2 separate regions of the Homo sapiens genome follow, and region 2 is linked to region 1. Evidence: promoter capture Hi-C in human tissues and cell types (Jung and others, 2019). All regions are on one chromosome and are shown on one strand. Each heading gives the region's core, a stretch centred on a gene start or on the middle of the fragment in contact. The rest is flanking DNA. Distances are from core to core; before and after follow the strand shown.

The links. Contacts are between HindIII fragments. The study calls those that stand out against the background at their distance.
Region 2: a fragment that was not itself captured here is called in contact with the fragment with the promoter of FBXO25 in region 1 in 1 of the 25 tissues and cell types used here (dorsolateral prefrontal cortex).

The regions. Positions count from the first base shown.
Region 1 is chr8:403,663-410,760 of GRCh38, reverse strand. It overlaps FBXO25 (F-box protein 25), which reads right to left and starts at 3,803. Exons shown (of 10, transcript NM_183420.2): 1 at 3,695-3,803. RefSeq lists a silencer at 3,671-4,080 and an enhancer at 6,182-6,241. The HindIII fragment of the contact is 7,830 bases long and covers 594-7,098 here.
Region 2 is chr8:1,736,544-1,743,641 of GRCh38, reverse strand. LOC105377778 (a long non-coding RNA gene) reads left to right here. Exons shown (of 4, transcript XR_007060784.1): 4 at 790-823. Among named protein-coding and RNA genes, the nearest start is that of CLN8, 24 kb to the left of the region's middle. The HindIII fragment of the contact is 5,059 bases long and covers 1-4,888 here.

The DNA of each region.
Region 1 (7,098 bases), core at 2,554-5,053:
ATTTCAGCACAATTTTGATAAACTTTGTCTCACAGAACTGCTTCACAACTACTGAACATCCTAAAATGCAAAACTCAATGCCCATGTTCAGTCGACCTAAAGTTATCTAAAACTGTCTCTAATAGCATACAGCTGATTTTATGATTTTCAAGAACATTCCCACCAAAGGCAGCAAAGACCATGAAGTAGCAGATGACTGAAGTGGCACCTTGAGTCTCATAAAACACATTCAACAGAAAATGGCTGCTAGGAACATCTCTGATAATTATCAAATTATCTCTCAATATCAACTTGAAACTGTGGATTCAGAAATCTATATTAAAAAAAAAAATCAAGTGGATAATCCTGAAAAATATTGCTAACAGACCAAATACAGGATTACTTCAACGACAAACATTTGAGCACCAACTACATGTTATTATGCTAGATGTTCCTGCCCTCAAAAGTGTGCAATTTAGCTAAGGAACTAAAAAAGAACAATAGCAAAACACACACAAATTCCATACAAGTGTAATATAATAAAGTGTGTTTACATGTAGATATGTGAGTGTGCATGTATACATACATACAGATATGTCCACAATCTTGTAACTTGTGGTAAAGAGAGAATAAAGTTAATTTGAGCAGAAAGCAAATCAGCTGGGAAAGCTCTGACTAGAAACTAGGACTCGATCTTCGCCCTGAAGCATGGTTAGATCTTAAATGAATGGAGAGGCAAGGCAAAAAATATCAATCATGGGAATGGTGGGTGAATAAGTATAAAGGGCAAAATGTGTGCCACAGTTTGAGAAAAATAAGCAGAAAAGATGGGATAAAATGGAGAAAGTTTATCAGAGGACTGGTACATAAGCGACTAGAAGCCAGGTCATAGAAGAATATCAAAGGTGTTTAGACTTTATTCTGTCAGTAATTAAACGTTTTTCAGCAACAGATCAGCGTGAGCAGTGTTGTTTTGAGAATAATAATTTTCTAGGGCTTGTAGGATAGATCAAATGAAAAACATGGAGACAGAAAAAAACAACTAGGCAACAAATATCTTGCCAACAGAACCTTATCTGGATGACTGTCCTATGTACATCCCGGTATCCTCAGCTGAAAAAATATTTTAAAACTTGATGACACACAAATATTGTACTTACCTATTTAGACACTATGCCCACTCATCATTTAATACACTTATCTTCTAGTTTCACAATCTTTATAACATTTACATAAAGAGCCTGCCTACTGTTTCCATTAATATAACCAATTCTTTTACAACTACCTAAACTCTACAGATAATTCATTTTGGCAACTCAGTGAAAAATGAATAGTTTGGTCTGAATTTCTCAGCTGATAAGTTTGATTTTTTAAGGGTTGAAAGGAGTGAAATGCAGCCATGGAAATAAAAAAATAGTCCATGCCCAAAGGCTTATTTTCAACACAGAGGAAAAGATTTGTTTCTCTGAAGATGTGTGTGCTTCACAGATTTGTTATGGTATGCTCTATGGATCACAATGAAGTTTTTCTTAAAGCATAATCTATACAGCTCATGAACTAAAGCACAAACTCTGGATGCAGATTAAAAACAACACCACCAACAAAAAAAGACAAGTTGCAATTTAAAACGTCTGGGGTCTGGATCTCAAGTTTTCAAAAATACTCCCAAACTGAGGCTTCTGAGTTTGCAAATCAGAAAACAATGCTACTAAAGTTTTATAGAATGATGATGACCCACGGCTTTCAATGGGAATGTATTTGTTCAGCTAAAAAATGTGAATTGCTAGAGCTTTATACGCTTATTTTAATTAAAATTACCTTTATTTTGGGAATTTACAAACACAAAAAAACTAGAAATTACTCCTGAAAATTATTAAACTTTTAAGAGCAAGCACTCAAAGGGTGTAGCTTGTATAATTTGCAAATTTTAAGCACATTTTATGCCAACTTATTTCAGACAGCCTACAATGATTAACTATTTAAAATCTTCCCTTAATTTCTATTTCATGTGGTAGGACACGTGGGTGGGATACTTCAGTAGAAAAGGACTTCATGAAGTTCATTTGCTGGTGGAAACTCTTGGCATGAGAGACTCAGAACAAAAAAAAATGTCTTTCCTTCAACAAGCATATTTTTTCTTAACAATAATAATGGCAAACATTTATTAGAGCTTACCATAGGCTACGCATTACTCTAAACAATCTACATATGTTGTCTCATTTAATCCTCACACTGTCCTCCAAGGTAGAAAACATTATTCTTGTTTTACAAGTTTCATTATGTATTTTAAAGATGAAGACACTGAGGCAAAGAGTTCAGTGGAGCTGGGATTCAAAATGATGGAGTCTCACTCCAGGATCCATGCTCCTAACCACTATGTTTATAATAGCAGTTCCTGAAAACCCTATTAAAACAGATGCCATTAAATTATAAGCTTTTTAACTTTTTTTTTTTTTACCGTCTATTACAGATCACTAATATGATTTCAAGTAATGATGAACCTAAATACAAAGGCACTAAAACAAGGAATACAACACAGGAAAGAAAACTCCAATCCATCTTAAAAGACCACATGTGTTTCCCTATTTGTTTTGCTTATAAGTGTGGACAAATTTGATCCAGAAAGGACATTTTAAAAAATGGCAAACTGAGGGCTGAGAGTCAGAAATAAGTTGTACTCTAAGGACTTACAGATAATCACAGATTCCTCATGGGAAAGGTAAACACGTAAAGACGAGGAGAAAACAGAATATGAAAGAGTAAACGTCTTTTCTGATTAGGGCCGGATGGTAAGGATTTGGAGGCAGCAAGAGACAGCTTCATAAGGGAAGAAATGGTTCTCTAGATTCTTTAGTCTTCAAAATGAGTTTGAATAGGCCCAAGGACAGAGGTGGAATCTAATTGAGAAAAAGGTCAAATTGAGCTTACTGTGAGGGGAAGGATGCAAAATTAGTGTCTGCTGCAAGAAAAATAAGCATGGAAAGAAATTAAGGGAGGAGACAGAGACAGAGCCAGAGCCACAGACCAGGAGTAGGGAAAAAAAGGTAAGCAGCAGACGGGGCAGAGTGGCCTGGAGGAATGAGGGGTCACACCTAGCAGGTGCCCACCGGCGAAGAGGCAAGGACCGAGCCCGGAGGGCAAACGCCGGCAGGAGTCGTCCCCGAAACACCTTGCCCAGCGAGGCGGACACAAGCTCGGGCCTGCAAGACGGCCCAGGAGGGTGGGGGCGGGAAGGGGTCGCAGAAGGTGGGCAGGGGAAGCGGCTGAGGACGCGCGGTGCACCTGTGGGCGGCCCCCGTGCCCACCCGACTCGCCCGCAGCTCCCTGAATGAACCCTCCACACCCGCCGGCCGCCCCCAGACCCCACCTGACGCGCCCGCGGCCCATCGTCCCTACCTGACGCGCCCGCGGACCCAGACTTCAGCAGACGCGCACGCGGCAATCCCGTCCCCACCTGACGCGCCCGCGACAACCCCGTCCCCACCTGACGCGCCCGAGGCCCCCGGTCCCCACCTGACCCTCCCACAGGCCCCGTCCCCACCTGACGCGCTCGCGACCCCATGTCTTCCCCTGACGCGCCCGCCGCCCCCGGTCTTCACCTGACTCGCCCGTGGCCCGTCGTCCCCACCTGACGCGCCCGCGAGCCCCAATCTTCACCTAACGCGCCTGCGGCGCCAAGTCTTCACCTGACGCGCCCGCTGCACCCCGCACCTACCTAGCGCGCCTGCGGCCCCCAGTCTTCACCTGACGCGCCCGCGTCCCCCAGTGCCCAACGGGCGCGCCGGCCACCTGGGCCCGCACCTGACGGCGACCAGGCGGTTATTGCCGGAAGTGGGCCGCCGCCTCCCGGCGCGCCTCAGGGAAGCCCCGCCCCTGGCCATGCTGATTGGCCGGCGCGGATCCGCGTGGCAATGTTGCTGCCTGGTCCTGTCGCCCGCAGCGTGCGCCTGCGTAGTAGGCACTGCCCCTCCGTCCGCGCGCGTCCAGAGTGCCGGGCGTGGAGGCGTGGGGGCGTGGGGGCGTGGGGTGGGGCTCGGGTGCGCAGGGACGGGCGCGGTCAGTGCCTGAGATCCCTGCGATCGCTGGGAGATGACGGTGAAGACCTGAGATTTAGGCCTGCGCGGCGGGTGACGACGCCGGTCCGGGTCTTCACGGGAGGACGCTGGCCGGGGCCTTCAGGTGTTCTCGTGGCCTGAGGACGCGCGTCCCTGAGAATGTGCGTGCCCGCGCCGCGCGGGTCCCACAGGAGCCTGGGCAGCCCCGCCGCCGCATTTCCACCCTGCGGCCGTATTTCCACCCGCTGGGCGCCAAGCCCGGGATGACTGCACTCTAGGGCATCACTGCGCGCTCACACTCAGCATTCGGGCACAAGCACGTTCTCTTTATAAACAGTTTCGAATCTTGTCGAATCTTTCTAGAAGGTTGAAATGCCCTGGAGGAGCAGCGTGAATAGTTTTTTCCAATTAGGAAAAAAGAATGTGGGGCGGCTGGAGGGAGAGAGGCAGGCCGAGAAGGCCAGGTGGGTCCAGGAGCCGCAGCCCCCGTGCCTCAGTTTCCGCCTAGAAACATGGAGGTGGCGGTGCACGCTACAGGATTTCCATAAGAACAAATGAGTTAGCGTGTGCAAAACATTTAAAACAGTGTCTGGTGTGTAGCAAGCAAATATGAGTATTAGTCTTTTCCTTGTTAAAATGTGTGCATCTACATGTGGTGCACATTACAGGAAGTGTATAGTATGGATTCATATTTTGGAAAAGTAATTTTAGAAGTTATTTCTGAAGTGCTTATTATAATAGTGTTTCTTGACCACATGCTTTTAAATAATGTGAAGGCAATGAAGTAGGCAATATTGCTTGCACATCCCCAATTTAAACACCTGTCTGTCCCTCCTTCCCTCTCTCCGTTCTTTTCTTCCTTTCCCTCTCTCTTTATTCCTTCCTTCATTCCCTTCAAGGTTGCGGATTATTCTATTATATAAATGTATCAATTTATTAGAATAGTTTCTATGATGTCTATGATAGGTTTTAAATTGTTTGCAATAGTTTGCCATTATAAATAATGCCCAGTAGCGCTGTGGTCTGATTTAACTTGTGAAGGTATATTTCCAAATAAATCGCTATGATTGGATTGTTGTGTAAAGCAAAAAGTGTCTGAGGCAGATCACAACTGATTTAGAGGTTTATTCTGCCAAAATCGTGGACGTGTCTGGGGAAAAAGAAACACAGGTTACAGTAGGATTTTTGGCCTGTACTTTTTTCCAAATATTTAAGGGAAAAGCGCCGGTAGGAGGGGAAAGAGGGGAGAGTAGGCTATGAGGCAAGTGGTCACATTTTTGTGAGGCTCTGATTAGAGTACAGCAAATCTACATTTCACATGTGAAAAGAAAGGTATGGGGGAGGGTTATGCATCTGTCTCATACTCAGTAGATCTACATTTCACATAAGATAAAGTAAGCTTTTGGGAACAAAAAGAAGACTGCGTGTGTGTGTGTGTGTGTGTGTGTGTGTGTGTGTGTGTGTTTTGCCAATATTAACTTTTCCCTTTGGCATAGTAAGTTTGGAGGCCTGAAATTTTATTTTTCTTTCACTGATGTGTCAAGGTTAACTGCATATGGAATACTAGTAGAAATTGCCAAGCCAAGACCCCACCACCACAATGGGGGACATAGTAATATTAAATTTAGCCCAATTGGCTAGCATCCTCACAATTCCTAGTGAAAGAATTCCTGGATGGATGGTAAAGAGGTAAACAAACTGCAGAAACTCACAAAGCAACAAAAGAAGTCCACAGAGTAAGAGCAGGAATTCAGAGAGTAACCACAGAGAGATCCACAGAGTAACAGCAGAACCCACAGTGTAACATCAGAGCCCACAGAGTAACAGCAGGACCCACAGAATAATAGCAGGCACCCACAGAGTAACATCAGAACCCATAGTGTGATAGCAGAGCCCAAAGAGTAACAGCAGAGCCCACAAAGTAACGTCAGAACCCACAGAGTAACAGCAGAGCCCACAGAGTAACGTCAGAACCCACAGAGTAACAGCAGAGCCCACAGAGTAATGTCAAGAGCATATTCATGGTCTTGGGTCTTCTTTGTGTGTCCTTTCTACCAGGACTGGGCTTAGCTCTGTGCTTGTGAAGAGTAACCCACTCAGTGCCCTCGGGAATTTCACCACTGGAGGAGGAGAAAAACCCCAGAGGGGCGGGGAGAAATGCTTTTCAAAACACATGGTGCAGCTGGAGATTGTGGAGCAGTTGCCCGGGCAGAAGGCTCGGCAGGGGGAATTAGTGACCAGTAGGGAGGTGCCTCCCTAACCACAGAGATTTTTTGGCAATCAACTTGTTGAAAAATCATGTTTTAAAATTTTCTTTAAGTCAAACCCTACAGAACCTAAGGAGCTGGCTCCTCCTGGCAGGAAGCTGGGAGAGTGCTGGTCACAGTGCACCAGGTGCCCCCTGCCTCACAGGGGCTTAGGGTGGTGGTGAGCACAGGGGTCCCACGCTTCTCCAATGCACACCACACAGTCGTCTCCTCTGACCTTCCCAAATGCTGCACGGACAAGTGTATGTAGTCCCTAACTCTCAGGACAATGTAGACTTGGTATACCTTCGGGCACGGGGAATCCCATCCTTCTTCCTGTTCCTGCCGCTCTGAAGCATGTGGTGTATGTTTAATGGGGATTTTACACAATATGGGAAGACCACTTCTGCTTTCTATGCAGTGATAATACTGCAATAAGAAAAAATGAACCAAGCCACCAAAACAAAACAGTACCACCTGATGCAGAACTAGGAGGGAAACACAGCAGTGTCTCAGAGCTAATGCAGCAGCCAGGCACCACGACAGTGTCATGGGTACAAGGAGGAGGTGTCTCAGAGCTAATGCTCTGTGCTGACAGCAGCCAGGCACCACGACGGTGCCATGGGTACAAGGAGGAGGTGCCTGGTTTTCAGGAGCTTGCCATCTGAACAGACCCAAGGTGGCAAACACACAGTGAGAAAATGGGGCCATGAGTGCTGTAATTACCTACAGAATGTTTAGGGGGACTGGGAGCAAAAACAATCCCCTCTTTCAGAAACCAATCCTGGAAGGTGCTGGAAGGTTGTACTAGCTGTGAA
Region 2 (7,098 bases), core at 1,110-3,609, 1.3 Mb before region 1:
AGAAAGAGAATAAGCTCTGAAAATGGCAAAGGCATAGCAGGAGGAGATTGGAACCATGGTGGAGATCAGCCCCCAGGCCAGGACTGCACAAGCCGTCCCTCAGTGGGAGGGACCTTCCTGCTCGTGGTGGTCACTTGCCTCATAGTGAGCACTCATTCCCCCGCCGGGGGCGGCTGGCACCCATCATTGCAGATCTGTGGGTGCTCCTATCCCTCCAGAGGACACTAAAGAGCAGGGGAGATGCACTTTCCTTCCAGTCCAAACCAGCCACCTGCCCGAAGGAAGAAGGAGAACCAGGGCTGCATCCAAGGAAAACACTTTCATTTCTCAAAGGAAAACATTAGGAACCTGAGGGAAGCTATTGCCAGGTGTGTAACTGACCCAGGATCTTCATCTAGAGCAGGGCTGGCAAAACAAGGCCCTCAGGCCAAATCAGGTCCACCATCCATTTATTTTGTATTCTCTGTAAGCTAACCATGAATTTTATTTTTTTTTAATGGTTCAAAAATGTAGAAGGAGAATGATGTTTTGTGACATGTAAAAATGATATGCTGTTCACGTTTTCAAGTCCATCAAAATAAGATAAACTGAACAGCACCAGGCTCATGGGTTTAGTATTGTCTGCAGCTGTTTTACGTGACAGCAGGAGAAAAGGTCCCACAGAGACCACATGGCTCACAAAGCCTAAAAGGTTAACTTTCTGGCTCATTACTGGAAAAGTTTGCTGATCCCTGACTATTTTTATTTTATTTTATTTTATTTTATTTTATTTTATTATTTTTGAGACAGGATCTCACTCTGTCACCCAGGCTGGAGTGCACTGGTGCAACCTCGGCTCACTGCAGCCCTGACGTCCCAGGCTCAAGCGATCCTCCTATCTCAGCCTCCCAAGTACCTGGGACTGGGACAGCAGGAGTGCAACACCCACACCAACACCAGACCACAGCCTTGACCCCTGAGTTTAGAGCATGCAAGAAATTCCTACAAATCAATTAGAAAAAACAAGCGATTTAAATAGAGAAATGGGCAAAAGACCTGAACAAGCACTGTACCAAAGAAAAGATCAAAATGGCTACTCAACGGATGCTCCCCTGTGTTATTCATCAGTGGCTGCTGCTTACAACCACAGTGAGATATCACTACATAGCCGCCAGGACAGCAAAGTCAGGAAAGAGGAGCAGGAATCAGTGTGGATACAGAGAAACTGAACTCAGACACTGTTGGTGGGAACTGAACTCACACACTGCTGAGGAGAACTGAACTCACTCACACACCATGGGGGGACTGAACTCACTCACACAGCACTGAGGGGACTGAACTCACACACCACGGCGGGGCCTGAACTCACTCACACACTACTGTGTGGAAACTGAACTCACTTGCGCACCCCTGGGGGGAAGTAACATTTTTGCATTGACCCTGGACCAATAACCACTGAAACTGAACTGAAGCTTCCATGGCGACACTGTGATTCCCCACGACCAGCAGAAATGCAAACATATTGCACACAAGGTCATGCACAAGAATGTTGACAGGATCACTGTTTGTGTGTTTATCTGAACCTTCACCTGCTCATGACAGATAAAGGTTATCATGTGAACGTGGGGAAGACATCGCCAAACACCCAGGGGAGGTTTCCCTGGGAGCAGACACCTCCTCCCCTCGCCGTCCTCTTTTACCTCCCGTTGCCGTCCTCTTTGAAATGCCCTGCAGCACGGTCAAGGGACTCTGCTGCTCTGCCAGTCCACTGTGTAGGTCTTCCTGCTTCTCCACTTTATTTCCACCAAATTATAAACTCTTGGAAACAAAGATTCTGCCATCACGCATTTCTTTATCACTCACAGCATCTGGATGTCCTCCACAACAGCAAGTGGCACCTGTCATATTTTGTTTTGTGTTTTTTGTTGTTGTTGTTTTGTTTTTTTTTGAGACGGAGTCTCGCTTTCTTGCCCAGGCTGGAGTGCAGTGGTGTGATCTCTGCTCATTGCAAGCTCCGCCTCTCGGGTTCAAGCGATTCTCCTGCCTCAGCCTCCCTAGTAGCTGGGACTACAGCTGCGTGCCACCACGCCTGGCTAATTTTTTGAATTTTTAGTAGAGACGGGGTTTCACAGTGTTAGACAGGATGGTCTTGATCTCCTGACCTCGTGATCCACCCGCCTCGGCCTCCCGAAAGTGCTGGGATTACAGGCATGAGCCAACGCGCCTGGCCACCTGTCACGTTTTACAGCTAAGGAAGCTGAGGTCACATGTCCAAGGAGTCAAGCATGGGACGTCTCTGTCCTTACCCAACGTGGGTCTCACCACCACTCCTTATTGACTCCACTCTGATCAGACTGTGCCTCTGATAACTCCCAGGACAGGCTCAGCCTTTTCAAGCTTCTGGGCCTTCACATTTGCTTTTGCCTCTCTACCTGGGTCTTTATTTCTTCTATTGTCCAAGGACCAAGTCCTCCTCATCCTTCAGGTCTCAACTCTGGCTGGGCTCCGAGGAGGAGCTACCACCTGGGACGCCACTACCTGTCGGGCCTGCCTCCCTCTCTTACTCGCTCATGTCCTTGCATTTCACTCATTGAATGATCTTAAACATTCATGATAGAATGATCTATCATGTCATAAAAATGACATGATAATTATTTTTATCTCTTTGTGGACTGTTTATTTTCTGTCCTGCCCTTCCCACCTCACAAGAATGGGAAGCCCCATGGTGGGCTGGGACATCATCTGTCTTATTCACACGTGATGTTAAAAGAGATTGTTTTCTTCCTAACGGTGATGAAGTTACACTGCACAGAGGATCTTCAGGGCAGTGAAGCTACTCTGCATGGCACTGTCATGGTGGATAAGAGTCAGTGTACATCTGTGCAGACCCAGAGGATGAACAACACCTAGAGCGAGCCCTCGTGTAAACCACGGACTCCAGGCAATGAAGACGTGTCCATGTGGGTTCACCAATGGTAACAAATGCACCACACTTGCTGGTGGGGGGTGGCTATGCGTGCAGGGGAGAGGGGACAGGCAGCGAATGGCAGGTGTCTGTACCTTCTGTGCATTTTACTGTGAGCCAAAAACTGCTCTAAAAAAATTGTCTACTTTTAAGTTCTGATGGGTTCTCTGGCTTCAGGGAGTTGCCATTTTGGATCCTGAAGAATAAAGAGATAGGCTCATTTGCATGAGGTAGGCAGAGTCAAGTTGGAGGTTGAACTACGTGCTGGGACTGAGGCCATCAGACTCTGGAGGGAGGAGGGGAGCATAGCTGCTGTCTTGCTGACAGCTTCATGGGGAAGCTGGGGTCTGAGTTAGGATGAGTGTCTTAGTCCATTTGTTTTGCTATCAAGGACTACCTGAAGCTGAGTAATTTATAAAGAAAAGAGGTGTGTTTGGCTCACCTCTCTGCAGCCTTCACAGGGAGCATGGTGCCAGCATCTGCGACTGGTGAGGCCTCCGAAATATTAGAAATTGGCCGGGCGCAGTGGCTCATGCCTGTAATCCTAGCACTTTGGGAGGTTGAGGGGGGCGGATCACCTGAGGTCAGGAGATCGAGACCAGCCTTCCCAACATTGGTGAAACCCCGCCTCTATTAAAAATACAAAAATTAGCTGGGCGTAATGGCAGGCACATGTAATCCCAGCTACTCGGGAGGCTGAGGCAGGAGAATCGCTTGAACCCAGAAGGCAGAGGTTGCAGTGATCCAAGATCACACCACTGCACTCCAGCTTGGGTGACAGAACTAGACTCCGTCTCAAAAAAAAAAAAAAAATGTGAGAAATCATTCTGCTCGTGGCGTCATGGCGGAATGGGAAGCGGAGCAGGCATCACATGCCAAGAGGAAAAAAGCCATAAAGAGGGACAGAGAGAGAGGAAAGGAGCTGCCAGGCTCTTTTTAACAATCAGATCTCGCGAGAGCTAATGAAATGAGACAAATAGAGTGAGGATGGCACCAAGACATTTATGTAGGGGCCACACCAGTGACCAGACACCTCCCACCACAACAATGACCAGACACCTCCCACCACACCAGTGACCACACACCTCCCACCACACCAGTGACCACACACCTCCCACCACACCGGTGACCAGACACCTCCCACCACACCGGTGACCAGACACCTCCTACCACAATGACCAGACACCTCCCACCACACCAGTGACCCAGACACCTCCCATCACACCAGTGACCCAGACGCCTCCCACCACACCAGTGACCAGACACCTCCCACTAGGCCGGCACCAACACTGGCGATCCAATGTCAGCCTGAGGTTTTGGGGGTGTCAAACATCCAAACGATATCACTGGGGTATGTCTGGGGAGGCAGGATGATGGCAGAAGGCCTCGAGACAGGAAGACCTTGCCTTGGGTCCGAAGCCTGTGCACAACCATCAGGAAACTCATCTGTTTCTGCTGGAGTTTAACTTGACTTTGATTGGTTATTAAAAACCATCCTGTAATCCCAGCAGTTTGGGAGGCTGAGGTGGGCAGATCACAAGGTCAGGAGTTCGAGACCAGCCTGGCCAACATGGTGAAACCCGGTCTCTACTAAAAATAGAAAAAATAGCTGGGTGTGGTGGCGGGTGCCTGTAATCCCAGCTACTCGGGAGGCTGAGGCAGGAGAATTGCTTGAACTCAGGAGGTGGATGTTGCAGTGAGCTGAGATTGCACCACTGCACTCCAGCCTGGGTGACAGAGCAAGACTCCGTCTCAGAAAAAAAAAAAAAATCATTGGGCCGGGCATGGTGGCTCACTCCTGTAATCCCATCACTCTGGGAGGCCGAGGCAGGTGGATCACCTAAGGTCAGGAGTTCAAGACTGGCATGGCCAACACAGTGAAAACCTATCTCTACTAAAAATACAAAAATTAGCTGGGCATGGTGGTGGGCGCCTATAGTCCCAGCTCCTCAAGAGGCCGAGGTGGGAGAATCACTTGAACCCCAGAGGCAGAGGTTGCAGTGAGCCAACATCGCGCCACTGCACTCCAGCCCGGGTGACAGATTGAGACTCTGTCTCAAAAATAAATAAATAAATAAAATAAATAAATAAATAAAAATAATCATTGGTTCTCACCTCCTTTATGATTCTTTTGCCCCATTCTCTCTTCTCTTCTGGGGCTGTGTGTGCACAGAGGACCTGCTCCCCCGTCCTGAGCGCCCTGGTCTCTTGTGCCCCCTGCCCATTTCCCTCCTCCGTTCTCCACCTGTCCTGGCTGTGCAAATGCTTCGGAGGACTCGCCCACTTTTCCCGTCCCCTCCTTTGCTGCCTACAGTCCACGTTAGAGTTCTTATTTTCCGTATCACATTTCACATTTCTAAAACTTCTACTTGATTCTTTTATTATTATAATTTTCACTTTTCTGGTGAAATTCTCCATCGGCTCACTTCAGTACTTGGATGGAGTAACCCCATGTTTTTTAGAGGACGCATCTCATAACTCCAGCCCCTGAAATTCCCGCGATCTCTTCCTATTGCCTGTTTTTCTTGGCTGTCGGTAATTTCTTTCTTGTCTTATCTCTGTCAGGTAAGTTTTGGTTGAATGTTGCTGTTGCCTATTAAAGGTTGTAGAAATGATTTGAGGATCTGGATGTATTATCTTCAGGAAGCAATTTCTGTTACTCATGGCAGGCATGTGGGTGGGGACAAAAAATCTCACTCCAGTCAGGGTTTGTGCTGTTTGGGGGCTGAGTTTCAGGGGTTTTTCCTCCCCTAAACTTACTACTATATCAGATAGTGAATATGTTTCGTGTTTAGAATTCTAAATTAGAGGTTATTTCCTATTGCCCAGCTCAACCTGGGTAGAGAAATGTGAGCCCAAAGCTAAACATTCCAGCTTTCTCATCCCAGCATTCACAACCACAACAATGTTTGGCTGTCGGAGTCCCAGGTGAGAGGGGTGAGCCAGGCAGGCTTGGTTTTCAAGTAAAGGGGATTTTCATGGGGATAGGGCACTGGGGGCAGAGGAGGGAGTCTGTGGGGGTAGCAGGAGCTCTGGGAGACAGCAAGGCTCCCACAGGGGAGGAGGGGTCATTGTATTTGAGCCCAGCACAATTCCTTACAAGTGATTTTTTTTTTTCAAGAACAAGCCAATTGATATAGTTGGATGTGTGTCCCCTCCAAATCTCCTGTGGAAATGTGACGCCCGGTGTTGGAGGTGGGCCTGGTGGGAGGTGACTGTGTTGTGGGGGCGGATCCTTCCTGAATGGCTTGGTGCCTTCCTGCTGTCTCCAGTGAGTTCACTGGAAATCTGGCTGTTTAAAGAGCCTGGCGCCTCTTGGCCGGGCGCGGTGGCTCACGCCTGTAATCCCAGCACTTTGGGGGCCGAGGCGGGTGGATCACAAGGTCAGGAGATCAGGACCATCCTGGCTAACACGGTGAAACCCCGTCTCTACTAAAAAATACAGAAAATTAGCCGGGCGCGGTGGCGGGCGCCTGTAGTCCCAGCTACTCAGGAGGCTGAGGCAGGAGAATGGCGTGAACCCGGGAGGCGGAGCTTGCAGTGAGCTGAGATCGCGCCACTGCACTCCAGCCTGGGCGACACAGCCAGACTCTGTCTCAAAAAAAAAAGAGCCTGGCACCTCCTTCTCTCTCTTGCTCCCTCTCTTGCCACCTGACACACCTGCTCCCCCTTCACCTTCCGCCAGGAGAAAAATCTTCCTGAGGCCTCCCCAGAAGCAGATGCTGGAACAACCCGCAGAACCATGAGCCACATATACCTGTTTCTTCATATACTATCCAGCCTCAGGTGTTCCTTATAGCAACGCAAGACAGACGAATACACCAGCCACATTAAGGTGGGGAATGGTTCTTGCTAATCTATCTTGAGACCAAGCATGTGTTAGGGTTAAATAGGAAATAGGTGTTAAAGTTTTCTGATGTTGTGCACGACACCTAATGAAATTGGCTTTCTTCCTCCCCATCTCCCTCCCTTTCTCCCGTCCTTGTCTCTCTGTCTTTGTCTTTGTCTCTCTGTTGGTCTCTCTCTTTCCTTCCTCTCTTGGTTCCCTGGTGTGCAGAATGACTAAGAAGGGGAAACACACAAGTGCACTCAATACTTTTTTTTTTGAGACACGGTCTGGCTCTGTCGCCCAGGCTGCAGTGCGCTGGTGTGAC